Linked DNA regions of Homo sapiens: region 1 is linked to region 2. Evidence: promoter capture Hi-C in human tissues and cell types (Jung and others, 2019). All regions are on one chromosome and are shown on one strand. The core of a region is centred on a gene start or on the middle of the fragment in contact, and the rest is flanking DNA. Distances in the headings are between cores, read along the strand shown. Region 1 has its middle 18 kb from the start of CHST4. Region 2 holds the start of MARVELD3 (MARVEL domain containing 3).

What was found. Contacts are between HindIII fragments. The study calls those that stand out against the background at their distance.
Region 1: a contact is called between a fragment that was not itself captured here and the fragment with the promoter of MARVELD3 in region 2, in 2 of the 25 tissues and cell types used here (pancreas and spleen).

The regions. Positions count from the first base shown.
Region 1 is chr16:71,507,061-71,509,760 of GRCh38, forward strand. No RefSeq gene overlaps it. Among named protein-coding and RNA genes, the nearest start is that of CHST4, 18 kb to the right of the region's middle. The HindIII fragment of the contact is 6,114 bases long and covers 1-2,700 here.
Region 2 is chr16:71,624,824-71,627,523 of GRCh38, forward strand. It overlaps MARVELD3 (MARVEL domain containing 3), which reads left to right and starts at 1,361. Exons shown (of 3, transcript NM_052858.6): 1 at 1,361-1,873. The coding sequence starts at 1,407. RefSeq lists a silencer at 2,182-2,231. The HindIII fragment of the contact is 11,141 bases long and covers 1-2,700 here.

The DNA.
Region 1 (2,700 bases), core at 143-2,642, 120 kb before region 2:
TTCATCTCTACCTTTCCCATCTCCTCTCCACCTCACACCACTTCATCACTGCTGGACTGTTTTGAAGCAAATCCCAGGTTACACACTTTTACTTCACCTGTAAATACTTCTATATATATCTCTCTTAAAAATAAGGATGTTTTGAAAACATAACTTATAAACCAGTACACCTAAGAAATGCAAGTCATTCAATATCCATCTAATGTGCAAATTTCCCCTAATTGTCTCACACATATTTTTGTTTTGGTTTGGTTTAGATTTTAGTGTTGGTTTTTCTTCTCTTTCTTTTCTTTTCTTTTTTAGTGTTGGTTTTTTAACTCAAGATCCTAACGAGGCCCACAAATTGCATTTGGCTGATATTTCTCTTAAGTCTCTTTGCATCTCCTTGGCTTACTGTTTAACATGCTCTTCTGGCCTCTGAATTTCCTGAAAATTGATCTTTAGATCTCAAGACTTGGTCAGATTCAGATTTTATACTTTGGCAAGAATCCTTCACAGATGGTATGTGCAGTGGGTTCAGTGTTATTATCTTTCCATCTAATGGTTTTAGCAGCTATCAATGACACAACCTGGATCCATCATTATGAAATGGAGTTCCTCTTCAATTTTAATGAAAGCCAGTAAATGGAAACCTGCAGAAGAATTTGTTCCCTAGTTGTCAGAGTCACCACTCTCTTAATTTTTAGAAACTAGTATACTCAACTTCAGAAATTATCATTATTATATTAATTAGTTATTGATTTTGAGACTTACTTTATTAATTAGACTTATTAATTATTAATTTTGAGGCAGGTAATTATAATTAATTATACTGGTTATTCTTTCTTTTTTTTTTTTTTGAGACAAGGTCTTGTGTATCACCCAGGCTGGAGTGCAGTGCAGTGGCACAATCATAGCTCACTGTAGCCTTGAACTCCTGAGCTCAAGTGATTCTCCTGCCTCAGCCTCCCAAGTAGCTAGGACTACAGGCATGCACCACCATGCCCCATTAAATTGTCTTATTTTTATTTTTGTAGAGATGGGGTCTTACTATGTTGTCCATGCTCACCTTGAACTCCTAGCCTCAAGCAGTCTTCCCACCTCAGTCTCCCAAAGCACTAGGATCACAGTGCATCAGCCTGCTATTATTCTTTCACTTAAGATACACCTTGTTTAACTTGTTGATAATACTCAAAAACTACTGGAAAATCAAAATATTTATATCAAACCACCATCACCAATTTAATATTTTTTCAATAAAAATATTTTTATCTCATCCTATGTTTTAAATACATTCTTGTTAAAAAGCCTTGGAAATCTATTTCATTTCACCTATGAAAAATACCCACCATATAACCTAATTGGACACTCTGATCCTCATTTTCAAACCAATAAAATAATCAGAGTTAATTTCTCTCCGAATTTTTTTTTTTTTTTTGAGATGGAGTTTCAGTCTCGTTGCCCAGACTGGAGCTCTAGTTTGATTGCACTGTGGTCTGAGAGACAGTTTGTTATAATTTCTGTTCTTTTACATTTGCTGAGAACTGCTTTACTTCCAACTATGTGGTCAATTTTGGAATAAGTGCGATGTGGTGCTGAGAAGAATGTATATTCTGTTGATTTGGGGTGGAGAGTTCTGTAGATGTCTATTAGGTCTGCTTGGTGCAGAGCTGAGTTCAATTCCTGGATATCCTTGTTAACTTTCTGGCTCATGGATCTGTCTTATATTGACAGTGGGGTGTTAAAGCCTCCCATTATTATTGTGTGGGGGTCTAAGTCTCTTGTAGGTCTCTAAGGACTTGCTTTATGAATCTGGGTGCTCCTGTATTGGGTGGATATATATTTAGGATAGTTAGCTCTTCTTGTTGAATTGATCCCTTTACCATTATGTAATGGCCTTCTTTGTCTCCTTTGATCTTTGTTGGTTTAAAGTCTGTTTTATCAGAGACTAGGATTGCAACCCCTGCCTTTTTTTGTTTTCCATTTGCTTGGTAGATCTTCCTCCATCCCTTTATTTTGAGCCTATGTGTGTCTCTGCACGTGAGATGGGTCTCCTGAATACAGCATAGTGATAGGTCTTGACTCTATCCAATTTGCCAGTCTGTGTCTTTTAATTGGAGCATTTAGCCCATTTACATCTAAGGTTAATATTGTTATGTGTGAATTTGATCCTGTCATTATGATGTTAGCTGGTTATCTTGCTCATTAGTTGATGCAGTTTCTTCCTAGCATCGATGGTCTTTACAATTTAGCATGTTTTTGCAGTGGCTGGTACCGGGTGTTCCTTTCCATGTTTAGTGCTTCCTTCAGGAGCTCTTGTAAGGTAGGCCTGGTGGTGACAAAATCTCTCAGCATTTGCTTGTCTGTAAAGGATTTTATTTCTCCTTTTCTCCTTCACTTATGAAGCTTAGTTTGGCTGGATATGAAATTCTGGGTTGAAAATGCTTTTCTTTAAGAATGTTGAATACTGTCCCCCACTCTCTTCTGGCTTGTAGAGTTTCTGCTGAGAGATCCACTGTTAGTCTGATGGGCTTCCCTTTGTGGGTAACCCGACCTTTCTATCTGGCTGCCCTTAATATTTTTTCCTTCATTTCAACTTTGCTGAATCTGAAAATTACGTGTCTTGGAGTTGCTCTTCTCGAGGAGTATCTTTGTGGTGTACTCTGTATTTCCTGAATTTGAATGTTGGCCTATCTTGCTAGGTTGGGGAAGTTCTCCTGG
Region 2 (2,700 bases), core at 111-2,610:
TTTGTTTACTACCTGTTTTCCCTTTTCCTGACACACTAGAATGCAATCACCCTGCAAGCAAATTTTCCACTATATCTCCAGTACCTGCTAAAGCAGGTGCTCATACATATTTGCTGAAAGAATTAATTACCAGATGGCAATTGTATATATTTTGTAATATCCTTACTTGGCAGAATTAAAAGCTGCCAATTTTGTGTAAGTCCCCATTTTAAAAAACAGGGCTATTTGTAAGCCCAGGACTATTGTGATAGATGAACTGGCTGCAAGCCCCTTACAACATAGGTGTTATAAGGAAAACAGGAGAAGGGAGAAAGAGGGACAGTGGATGGGTGGAGGGAGAAGTGGAAGGTGGGTGACTGGGTGGATGTGTGGGTAGGTTAGTGGCCAGATGGATGGATGAATGGGTGAGTGGATGAATGGTGGATGGGTGGATGCGTGGGTGGGTGGCTGGATGGGTGAGTGGGTGGATGAATGGGTGGATGGATGGGTGAGTTGGTAGATGGGTGGGTGAGTGGGTGGGTGGATGGGTGGATGAGTGAATGGGTGGGTGGATGGATGGTGGATGGGTGGGTGAGAGTGGATGGTTAGGTGAGTGGGTGGATGGATGGGCAGGTGAGTGGGTGAGTGGGCGGATGGTAGATGGGTGGGTGGATGGGTGGGTGAGTGGGTGGATGGGTGGATGGATGGATGGAGGGTGGGTGGGTGGGCGGATGGGCAGGTGAGTGGGCGGGTAGATGGGTGGTGGATGGGTGGGTGAGTGGGTGGATAGATGGATGGATGGGTGGATGGTTAGATGGGTAGGTGAGTAGGTGGATAGGTGGATAGACGGGTGTATGGATGGGTGAGTGGTTGAATGGGTGGATGGTTGGACGGGTGGGTGAGTGGGTGGATGGGTGGATGGATGGTGGATGGGTGGGTGAGTGGGTGGATGGGTGGGTGAGTGGGTGGATGGGTGGGTGAATGGATGAGCGGGTAGTGGGTGATTGGGTGAATGAATGAGTGTCTGGCTGAGTGAGTGAGAGGATGGGTACCTCTGGGAAGGTAAATCCAAGTTGCAGTGTAAGTTGAGCCAGGGGAGGTGGCCACAGTTGGCTCCCTTAGGCCGCCCACCTCGTGGGGTCACCAAGGGGTTACTTCGGGGCAGAAAGGTGCGGCTGTGGGTCGCCCCGCCCGGGTTTCCAGCAGCAGCACCCCAGCCCCCACCCAGCACACAGGCACCCCTCCCGCCCGGGCCCCAGACGCGCTCAGGCCGCCCCCTGAGGGCGCCCGTTCTCAGGTGAGCTCCCGGACTAGCGCGCATGCGCACAGGTGAGTGCCCGCCCCGCCCCCGGGCTTGGCCACCTGCCCAAGAAACTTGTTGGTTGTTGCCCTCAGGTCGCTCCCGGGCGGGGACACGGAACCCGGCCATGGAAGATCCGTCGGGGGCTCGCGAGCCCCGGGCCCGGCCGAGAGAGCGGGACCCGGGACGGCGCCCCCACCCAGACCAAGGCCGCACCCACGATCGACCGCGGGACCGACCCGGGGACCCGCGCAGGAAGCGAAGCAGCGACGGGAACCGGCGAAGGGACGGGGACCGGGACCCGGAGAGAGACCAGGAGAGGGACGGGAACCGCGACCGGAACCGGGACCGGGAGAGGGAGAGAGAGAGGGAAAGAGACCCGGACCGAGGCCCCCGCCGGGACACACACAGGGACGCGGGCCCTCGCGCAGGTGAACACGGAGTTTGGGAAAAACCGCGCCAAAGCCGGACGCGGGACGGAGCCCGGGGACTGACCTGGGACGCAGCCGCGCCTCCTGGGCCCGCGCCCTGGGAAGCCCCGGAGCCGCCGCAGCCGCAGAGGAAGGGAGACCCCGGGCGCCGCAGACCCGAAAGGTGAGAGGGGCCGGGGCGCTGCGACCTCCGCGCCGGGGACACCTGTGGCCCAGGCCGGCCCGCGAGGCCCTGGCGTCCCCGGGTTCTCGTCCTAGGAGCCCGTTTAAATGAACAAATGCCGTTTCTCCCTTCTGCGCTCTCAGAGGCGACCTGGCAGGGAAGGAAAACTTTAGGGTTCCCCCTTCTCGTGGCCTGAACCCAACTAACAAAGCAAAAACCACCCCTGTGAGCAGTGGCTGGGCTGGAGGACCTGGAGAAGAGAAAGAGAGGCCCCGGGACCCGAGAGGGAGGGGTGGGAGGAGACCAGGCGGGTGGGGTTCACCCCAGGCTCCTCCCCGGCCCGGCCCGCATGGTCACAGGACTGCGCCTTGGGGTTCAGACCCTTGTCCCGTGTTCCAGAGCCAGCCCTTCCCGACTCCAAAGTCCCCTTCCTTGTGGCCGGGCCGCCCACTTGGGAAGCCCGATGAAGAGTTAATAGTTTAATGTGTTACCCCTCCCAGGAATAGGTGCCTTCAGAAACAGGTGGGCCGGCGCGGTGGCTCATGCCTGTAATCCCAACACTTTGGGAGGCCGAGGCGGGCGGATCACCTGAGGCCAGGAGTTCGAGACCAGCCTGGCCAACATGGTGAAACCCCGTCTTTACTAAAAATACAAAAACTTAGCCAGGCGTGATGGCAGATGCCTGTAATCCCAGCTACTTGGGAGGCTGAGGAGGGAGAATCGCTTGAACCCGGGAGGCGGAGGTTGCAGTGAGCCGAGATCGCACCACTGCACTCCAGCCTGGGCGACAAAGCGAGACTCCGTCTCAAAAAAAAAAAAAAAAGTCA